2 separate regions of the Homo sapiens genome follow, and region 1 is linked to region 2. Evidence: promoter capture Hi-C in human tissues and cell types (Jung and others, 2019). All regions are on one chromosome and are shown on one strand. The core of a region is centred on a gene start or on the middle of the fragment in contact, and the rest is flanking DNA. Distances in the headings are between cores, read along the strand shown. Region 1 overlaps ZBED3-AS1 (ZBED3 antisense RNA 1). Region 2 holds the start of ANKRD31 (ankyrin repeat domain 31).

Region 1 (5,175 bases), core at 1,455-3,954, 1.9 Mb before region 2:
AGAGACAAGGTAGGGAATAAATAAACACTTCAAAGACAAAACTAGAAATAACATCCTTAGATAAGAAGAGAAAGTGCATTCATGAAAGGAAAACAGAATAATATAGAAAACAAGTAACTGGAAAATAAGAAAGAGCTCTTGGAAATTAAGAGTAAGAAAGCTGAAGTTTTAAAAGTTGCTAGAAAAGTTGAATGATAAAGTTGAGGAAGTCTTTTAGAAAACAGAACTGAAAGACAAAGATGTGGGCAATAGAGGAAAAAAGATAGGAAAATTAGAAGCTTGATCCTGGGGGTCAACATCCAACTAATAGGAGTTCCAGAAAGAGAATTTTGAGGCCAGGCACCTCAAATTTGCCAATGCTCATGCCTGTTATCCCAGCACTTTGAGCAGCTGAGGTGTGGGTGAGGGACCGTTGCAGGCCAGAAGTTCAAGACCAGCCTTTTCAATATAGCAAGATCCTGTCTCTATTAAAAAAAAAAAAATTCCAGCCAGGCACGGTGGCTCATGCCTGTAATCCCAACACTTTGGGAGGCCGAGGCGGGTGGATCACGAGGTCAGGAGCTCGAGACCAGCCCAACCAACATGGTGAAATCCCATCTCTACTAAAAATACAAAAATTAGCTGGGCATGGTGGCGCGTGCCTGTAATCCCAGCTACTCAGGAGACTGAGGCAGGAGAACTGCTTGAACTCTGGAGGCGGAGGCTGCAATGAGCCGAGATCGTGCCACTGCACTCCAGCCTGGGCCACAGCGAGACTCCGTCTCAAAAAAAAAAAAAAAAAAAAAAATTCCTCTGGCTGAAAGTCTTGAGTCCCTCAACTGAAAGGGTCTCCCAAGTGTCCAGCACAATGAATTCAAACCATACTAAGTCATATTATTATTTCAATTAGAAATGCTGTGGCATTTATGTCATTTTGGATCCTCTTAGATGTCAAGATGAGATTAGGTAGTCAAGAGATTTATTGGGAGAAATGCCTGTGAAGGATAAAGGAATGCAGAGCAGAAGAATATAATGCAGGTCTGCTACCTGGGAAAGAAGAGAGGAAAGAAAGTCCTGCCTAGGAAAAGCTTCAGGCTGCAGCACAGTTCTGAGAAACTGTGACACTGTGTCCAGCCAGAACAAAGGAGTGTTAGTGTCTGAGGCAAAGGCTGTTCATTAGAGTAGCCTCACATCAGGTAGGCACAAGTGGCTCTACTGTCCTCATCTTATTCAGTGATCAGCTGGGAGCAGTCGAAGGGAAGTATGGCCTCTACGTAGCTGTCACTCAGCTATGCTTTCCATGGCCGACTATCTTAAAGGGACATCTAAGCAGTGTACCTCCAGGACTGCCACAGTCCATTTCTTTTCCTCCATAGATCCAGTTCCCCATGGCTCCTGTGGGCCCTCTTCTTGAGGAAATACTTAGAAGAGAGAAGTTAATGGGAGGAACTATAGCCCCTAGTGCCGCCAGTTGTCTTGAGATCGCAACCCATAGTCATCTTCTCCTACCTGCACTATCCAATCTAAATTCCCCTCCCCCTCTTTATTATCTTCATTATCTTTATTCCAGAAGGTCTTAGCTGTTGGCAGTCACATCACAGATTGGGCAAGACTACAGAAAAACTTGACCACAGGGATCACCTGGGATCCATACACATTCCTTCCTCCCTGTCCCATTGTGTACAGGCAGCCTCACCTCTTTCTGCTGATGGAAGTCAATGATTTCTTCTTTTCACCTGCTGGTCTCTTCATAGAAAGAGTCCAAAATGCCCTGGTGGCAGCCATAGTATATAGTTCAATGGGACACTTGCTGTGTCTCCTGCCAAGCTGCACCTCATTTGAGGACCAAAACCTCTAATCTCATAGAGCCCAGAGTTGTAGAGACAAGAAGCACAAAGTTCCCCAGGAGGTCATTGGAAATGATAAGTGGGTCCACTCCTGCTTCCACTTCTTGGTTCTCAGACCCATGTATTCTTCCTGTTGAGGACATAGCACCACATGGAGAACCCCAGTTTAATGTATACAGTGCATCCTGCAGGATGGTACCCTGTTCTTTCAGAGCATTGCCTCCAGCTGGAGCTCCAGCTGTGCCTTTAGTAACCATTCCAATGCTTTATGAGGCTGGCTCCATCTAGGTGATACAGTATCTGATATGACCAGTGGATCCCATGGTCATTGTCCTATTCCCAAGCCTCCTTTGCGATGAAGTGATCCTCTGGTCAATATTATGCTGTGTGTGCTTCCATGACTACAGATCGGCCCCAGGTAGTGGGGCTTGCTGAAGCTCTGTGGCAAGGAAAGGCAAATCTAAAGCCAGGAGAGGTATCTAACCCTGTGAGGATGAACTGTGGAACCTTCCAGGACAGAAGGCCCAATATAGCTGACTTGCCAACTATATTGGAGATGCAAAAGTTTATTTTCCAACTCAGCAAGTCCCAGAATTCTTGGGCTCCCTGCATTCCACCTACATGTTCCTTGAAACCTGGCTGGTTCTTTTCTGAACTCATCTCTAGTACCTATTATATGCAGCTAAATACAACTAGCTCACACTTTTATCATTGTGCATGAAGACTTCTCAGCACAAATCCAAATATTTTTAGGTACATATGCTAACTTCCAAGTTACCAAAGGTGACAGTTTTAGAAAATGTCTCATCCCTGCAAAACACAGATTACCATTTTCTTTCCAGCCTCCTATAACAGTTTTCTTGTGCCCATCATCCAGCCTCCAAACCAATGCCACTTATTTTTTTGTTTTCTTGTGCCTATACCTCACTACAAATATCAATTTCTAATACCAATTAGATACTAATTTCTGATACCAAAAGCTATTGCCACAAAATGTTATATGACAAACATCCAAAAATTCAGTGGCTTAAAATAACAGTCGTTTATTGTCATTGATCTATGAATCAGCTGAGTGTTGGCAGATCCAAGCTGGGCTCCACTGTGCAGCTCTGCTGATTCAGGCTGAGCTTGGCCAGGAGGGTTTGGCTTTGCTCCATGTGTTACTCATCCTCCTTCTAGAACCAGTGGGCTAGTCATCAGCCTGTTTGTTCTGTGCTTCTGATGGCATAAGCCTAAGAAAACAAGCCCAACCACACAAGTGTTTTTCAAGCCCCTACTTGCAACATACTTGCTAATATCCCACTAGCCAAAGTAAGTCAGGGTGAGGGAGAAAAGTGAATATTTTGAATAATAATCTAACCTACCACATGTTATTGTGGAATCATAGGTCATCTCCAAAGAGGAAAAGTCATCAGATACAAAGGATTGTGAATGAGAATGGCAGAACTTCTCTAGAGCAATATCAGAAGCTAGAAGACAATGAAATGCCTTCCAAATTCTGAGTGAAATTGTTTTAAACCTAGAATTCCATATCCGTCTAAACTATCAGTTAATTATAAGGCTAGAATAAAGATATTTTGAGATATGCACATGTAGAGTCTCAGTTAATGTACCTCCCATAGACCTTTCCTTAGAAGCTACTAGAGAATAAGAACCACCAAAAAGACGCAACCAAAACAGAGGAAGATAGAAAACATAGGAAATCCAGTTTAGGAGAGAGATGATGGAAATTTCCAGCATGATAGCACATGAAGTTCCATATTGTTGCACAGAAGACAGCAAGACTAGTCTGGAGCAGAGGGATGGAGGGCTCCATGGCTCTCTGCAGCGTGGGGAATTTGACTGAGTGGAAAGATACATAAAATGCTATTGTAGACAGTGGGAAAACCCAAGTATAGGTAAAATGGAAAACTAAGCAAATGAAAAATAACACAATTATTTAGAGGTATGTAGAAGGACGTAAAATCATAGCCCACTATTTTGTTCAGCCATAAACAATATTTCATATTATAAGAAGAACTGTCCTATAACTATATTGAGAGAATGGGAAGAAGAAAGTGAATAATGCCATAATAGAGAGTCACCAGACAATATTCAAGGTTGATAAATCAGGAAAAACAATATAGCACATATTAGTTAGCAATATGGAGGAAATGTATTGAGTCTGGAAAGTGGAATTAGAAAATATGAGGGGTGGGACATGGGCTTGTTCTATTTGGTTGCAAATCTTTTATCAATATTGGACTGTTGTGTAAAAATATGTACATATATTACTCTGATAAATTTTTTCAGGCCTAGGGAAATGTAATACAATTAGCTTGTATACTACTTTGGTGAGAGCAAATTTCATCTATTTTATCATTTATTGAATAAATATTTTTGCTTTGTTCTAGGTACAAATATTTTTGCTTAGTTGTAGGCATCAAAATAATTATGCACCGTGTTTGATGATTACAAAACACATTTGCATATATTTAATCTTGTGATTCAATTCTTACAACTCTGTGAGTTTGATACAGAAGCAAATTTACCTTGCTGTTAATGAATTCTAAGTTGCAGGACTGTTTGTTGAATGGACCCCTTTCTAACTCTGGAAAGGGGCCCTATCAATAAGTTTACATGGTTGTATAATTTTGTAAATTATACCCAAAAAAAGCCTTTTGTTAAGATCACTTCAACTCCTAATGCATCATATTTCCCCTTATGTGAACAAGAGAATTGTTTCTAAATAAACGCACAATTTTGTACCCAATTCATATCATAAATTTTTATTCTTTTGCTTAAAGAAGGCTCCAGCAAATAGTGAAAATGTCAAGCTCACCAAAACTGGAATTCATCCCGGGTAAGTATTATCTTTCCTATTTGACAAGTTGATGAATGAGGTTAAATGGCTTTGCCCAAGTTTGCACATCTGGACTTAAACTCAAGTATTTGAATGTCCAAACCCACTTTCTTGGGTTGCTACCTTATAATCCATCTCTAGATGGTAGAAGAAAAGTTAAGAGTCATTAGTCCTGTTCCTGGAAAAATCCATCCTGGAACGTGGGTGGAAAGAGGGCAAGCCTGAGCCATTGGGCTTGGGGTTCACATGGTGGTGTTTTGAGGAACAGGTGGTGGTGAATGACACAAAAAGAAAGGTCATTGAAGACAAATTATGATGATACACAATGTTCTCTTTGTCTGCCTCTGCCTAGCCATTGGGGAACAACAACACTAAAATGCCTCCTGTGAAACACAGTCCTGTTGGGATAGGAAGAGGTCTCCTTTCTCCAGATGTCTCTCGTTTATTCCAGTCTGGTATCTGAGAACAGCTCTGAGTATCGCTCTGGAACCAGTGAGGCTGGCTGAA
Region 2 (5,151 bases), core at 448-2,947:
GGGTGAAGTGGGCATAGTGGCATGAGATTGTAGTTCCGGCTATTTGGGAGGGTGAGGTGGGAGGACAGCTTGAGCCCAGGAGTTGGAGATTAGCTTGGGCAACACAGAAGAATGCGCTAATGAATTAATTAAACAGTGGGTGAGCAGGAAAGGTGATAGGAATTTAGGTCTGATTTAGACACGGAGGGTATAAATGGACTACTGTTAAAAAAAATAAAAAAGAGGTCTAGTTCTTTGCATATTTATTATTGCTCTGCCTAATTTACAGAGTTGAGGCGAGGAATTTTATTTAAGTAAGTTACTTATTCAAGTAAGTTTATTTTTTTATTTTTTGAGACATGGTATGACTCTGTTGCTCAGGCTGGAGTGCGTTTGCTCAATCATAGCTCATTATAACCTCAAACTCCTGGGCTCAAGCGATCCTCCCGCCTCAACCTGAGTAGCTGGGACTACAGGCCCATGCTACCATGCCCTGCTAATTAAAAACAAATTTTTTGCAGAGATAGGGGTCTCACCATGTTGCCCAGGCTGGTCTTGAACTTCTGGTCTCAAGCAATCCTCCTGCCTCGGCCTCCAATGCATTGAGGTTACAGGTAGAGCCACCACCCCCAGCCTCAAGTTAAGTTTAGAAGATAATCACCAATCAAGCATTTTAAATAGCAGTGGCTTGAATATACATAGTAAAAACACAAAATAATAATAATGATAATAATGGCAAAGCTACTCCATATAGTGAAAAGGGCAATGAATTGGGAAGTCAGAAATCTCTAGCTCCATCCATTTATGACAAAACTTAGACTTTATATGTGCTAGATGCTGGAGACTCCAAGGTGAATACTAAACACTTGCTATGGGAAAACAACTTGGTCTTTTCTTGAATCTTCTTCTCACTTGGCAAGTGGAAGCTCACTTGGCTTTGTTTTGAATTAGTTTGAATTAAAAATGTTCAACTAGACTGAAACACATCAAATATATAAAATTCTAGTACTTCATTAAAACGCAATTGACTACTTTTGGAGGTTGCTAGGCATTACTATTATTATAAAAATTGATAAAAGAGGAAAAAATAAAGCATTTATCCTGCCTTTCCTGCATAATCTGTATTTCAGGTAACCAAAGCGTTGTTGAGAGAAAAAAAAAATGCAAAATACATCACTGAGATTAGTTGATGAGCTAAAACTTCTGATAAACGTATCTGTTTTGTCTACCTCAGAGGACACTTGAGGAGAGGCTGTCAAGGGATTAAAGGGAAAGGAAGCACTTGGTGGGCTGCAAAAACTCTCTTTAGGTCTAAGGTCGCATTCTGGCTCCAGAATGCCAGGGCTGCTGGGGCGGGCAGGAGCTGACAGCTCTTCCCGTATCTGGGGCTCACAAGCATCAGGTGCATGGCAGGTCACCCTCCCGGCCAAGGGTGTTAAGCAGGCTCGGTCTGAGTTCTGGGTGCGCCACGCCTGCCTTTCTGGTCTCTGCAGCAGCAACCCCAGCACCCTCAAAGCCTAGCGACCGAGAATGAGAAACCGTGAAAAAAACACGCAGCGGCAGGCCACGCCCAGAGTAGGCCTGCGCGCGCGCGCGCGGCCTCCCACTTCCGGCCACGGGAGCTGGGGGCGGGGCCGAGCGCTGCGCAGGGCTCCGTCGTGTGGCGAGCGGCTGCCCCCTGTCTGCGACGAGCGGCGGGACCCGCGGGCCGCCTCGCAGACTGCTACCCCGCCGCGCTCGCGGCCGCCTGCGTCCTCCTCAGCAGCCCTGCGACAAGTCCCGGCTCCTGCTGCGATTATATTATTTTTATTTTTAATTCACAATTTCCCCTGGCCCTCAAAGCGTTTTTTTGTTTGCGGGCAAGAGGGAGTTAGAGGAGGGTAAAAAAGACTTTGAATGTGAGGCAAAGATGGAGGAAGGCGTCCAGGCCCCAGACTGGGACAGTGATGAAACTGTGATAGAGGGTTCAGTGACGGAGAGCGACCTGGAAGAAAAGGAGCTGCCCTGGAGAAGGTGACCATCATTAGGGCCACAGTGCCTGAACCCTCGCGCCAGGGCGGCCCAGGTGCCCTCTGAGGGGGTCAGAGTTTTGAGTGGAGATCGTGACCAGAACATGTGCTTGTGGGCAGGATCAGAGCCTTGTGGGGCAGCCGTGCCTGAGCTGAGAGCTTGTAAATAAGCAAACACAGTCTGTTCCCACCTACCCCCAACCAGCTAGGGATAAAATGAGGTTTGTACTAGGTGGCTTTATAGCATTTTTCAAAAGGCTTTCCTTTTGGGGGCTTTAAGTCTTTTTGCACAAGCAAAAAAGATCTTGGGTCTGAACTTAACTGCATTTTGTTTCAGGAGACTTCATTTTGCTTCAAGAGACTCGTAGCTCAGTTCTAGGAAAATGGGTAACAGTTTCTCTCAAGAAAAGAATGTGTGATGGGGAAACTGGTCCCTGCCAAACTGGAAACGAATAGTTTTATACGAATCCAAAAAAGTCGGTATTTCAGGTTATCGAAACCTTTCTCTAACATATTCTCTGTGCTAGACACAGGGAAAAGAGGGCAGGGATGAGGCCACTAGGTCTGCTTCATATGTGCTCAGGGCTGTGTCTGGGACTTAAGTTGGATCGTACACAGAATTAGGTCATTCTCCTTTCCCTCTCTCTCTTCTCCAGGATTCTCCTGCCCCCTTTCCTCATCATACCCACTTGCCAGTTCATATGATCAGAAAGACAGGTTTCTTTGAGTGTTAGCCTTTTCACTATACAGCAGTTCCTTACAAGGGGGACAGCCTTTAGCACAGAGTTAAGAAAAGAGAGAAAAAAGGGGGATTCTGTCCACACTTTTCAGGCAATACCGATCCCTTTTCCCAGTTCCTCTGGTAGACACTTTCTCTTGAGTTTTATGTTCCCCAGTTGCCATGGTTGGTGTCTGCTCTGAGGCTAGGGCCAGCCTTGGGGCAGGGCTGGGAGGTGAGAGAGAAAGCAACATAAAGCCCTGGGCTTTGTCCTATACCTTCTGGCATGCAGGGGTCATTTTCCTTGGTCTTCTGGATAAAAATAGGTTTACTGTCTGTGCCCACTGGATGGTTCAAAGCTGAAAGACAAAAAAGAACCAAAAAACCGAAAACAAACTGAAACTCGTCAATAAATGGGTTGTTATTAAGATTTCAACTTCAGTCCCCAATCTACCTGCTATTGTTTACTTTTCAAGGTTCTCGAGTAGTTTTTAAAAAATATTCATTCGGAGTTTTTGGTTGTAATGAGAAACAGGCAGAGGTTGCTATGAGCCAAAATGACTCCACTGCACTCCAGCCTGGGCGACAGAGTGAGACTCTATCTCAAAAAAAAAAAAAAAAAAAAAAGTACCAGCAAGACTTTCTGTTGAACTAGACAACTGATTCCAAAGTTTATATCGTAAAATAAATAAGAGCAATTAGGAAAAGTCTGAAAAATAAGAACAATAAGGAGGTAATGACCTATAGGATATTAAAATATTTTCTGATATAAAATATTTTAAATATGATACTGGCACATAAAGTGACAGATCAATAAACAGCATAAAAACCCCCAAAATAGAATCACATACATATGGGAATTTAGTGTATTACAGAGGTGGCATCTCAAACCAGCGAGGAAATGATGGGATTTTTCAAAAAATGATATTGGGATGATGAAGGATGTATGTAGAAAATAGTTTAGTTGAATCCATATTTCACACTGTACTCCAAAAAAATTCCATATGAATCAAAGATGTAAATGTTAAAAAAAAACCAAAAAGTATTACAAGAAGCCAAAAAGGGATTCTTTTATAACTGTAGAGGAAGAAAGATATAATTATAATACAAAACTCAAAAAATTTCAATTATCAAGATTACAAACACATATACTCTTTGACACAGTGCTTCTGTTTTTAGAAAATAGTGTTACCTCTGTCTTCCAACATATATACACTTAGAAAATATCTCTGAAAGAATTACAAAACAATCAAACACCTTGGTTGCCTGTGGGAAAGAAAGCTTATATTTGAGGGGACAGAGAGATATTTTACTACATACCCTATTATATTGTTTGTTTTGGAGACTGGATCTTACACTATTGTCCAGTCTGGAATGCAATAGTGCAGTCATAGCTCACTGAAGCCTCTAACTCCTAGGCTGAAGTGATCTTCCTGCCTCAGCTCCCTGAGTAGTGAGGACTATGAGCATGAGTAATCAGGGCTAGTCTATACTGGTTTTTGAATTTTGAACCATATAAATATATTGTCTATTCAGGAACACTATAGGAAACATGAGCAATAAAAAGAAGCATGAATGAGATAGAAATCTGACCTAATTCTACTTGTATTAAGACTTTGGTATATTTTCTTCCAGCTTTCTATGTAGGCTTTTGTGTGTGCACCTATAATTCTTTTACAAAGTTTGAATCAATTTGTACAAGTTTACAGTTTTCGCTTAACATTATTTTTAAACATTTGCAATGTCATTAAAATTCTTCCCTAAATTATTGATAGTTTTCTGTCATAAAGGGATAATTTGTTGAAGCATTATATGATTTTAAAACAAAACATTTAGTTTGTTTTTAATTTTTTGTTATTGCAAATAACTCTGAGATAATTTCCTTAAGCATAAATTGTTGGGGTTTTTAAAAATAATTTCCTTAGGAAAGAATCTGGACTATTTTTTTTTTTGAGACGGAGTCTCATTCTATCACCCAGGCTGGAGTGCAGTAGCATGATCTCAGCTCACGGCAGCTTCCATCCACCCAGGTTCAAGCCATTCTCTTGCCTGGGTCTGCTGAGTAGCTGGGACTACAGGCGCATACCACCATGCCCAGCTAATTTTTGTATTTTTAGTATAGATGGGGTTTCACCATGATGGCCAGGCTGGTCTCGAACTCCTGACTTCAAGTGATCTCCCCACTTCAGCCTCCCAAAGTGCTGGGATTACAGGCATGAGTCACTGTGCCCGGCCCTTATTGGTACTTTTATTGGCATAATGTTAAATTTTTACGTTTACATATTAGAATATTAACATATTTATATTAGTTTTTTATTTTTAATTAAGATTTTAGTAGGGGCAGAAATTCTGCCTTTCTCCTCATAGGGCCCTGGTTAAGCCTAAGAATTAAATATGAAATAGATTAAATACTTTAAATATTAAAACTTATGTAAATTTAAAATA

Evidence for each region. The method cuts DNA at HindIII sites, captures the fragments that hold promoters and counts their contacts. A contact is called where the count stands out against the background at its distance.
Region 1: a fragment that was not itself captured here is called in contact with the fragment with the promoter of ANKRD31 in region 2 in 1 of the 25 tissues and cell types used here (hippocampus).

What each region holds. Positions count from the first base shown.
Region 1 is chr5:77,131,086-77,136,260 of GRCh38, reverse strand. All of the region lies in intron 2 of ZBED3-AS1 (ZBED3 antisense RNA 1), which reads right to left. LOC124901008 (a long non-coding RNA gene) reads left to right here and starts at 5,133. Exons shown (of 3, transcript XR_007058827.1): 1 at 5,133-5,175. It also overlaps a transcript of PDE8B not described here. The HindIII fragment of the contact is 4,061 bases long and covers 674-4,734 here.
Region 2 is chr5:75,233,424-75,238,574 of GRCh38, reverse strand. It overlaps ANKRD31 (ankyrin repeat domain 31), which reads left to right and starts at 1,697. Exons shown (of 26, transcript NM_001372053.1): 1 at 1,697-1,992. The coding sequence starts at 1,889. It overlaps LOC124901006 (a long non-coding RNA gene), which reads right to left and starts at 1,537. Exons shown (of 2, transcript XR_007058823.1): 1 at 1,209-1,537. RefSeq lists a silencer at 1,457-1,756 and an enhancer at 1,807-1,976. The HindIII fragment of the contact is 20,855 bases long and covers 1-5,151 here.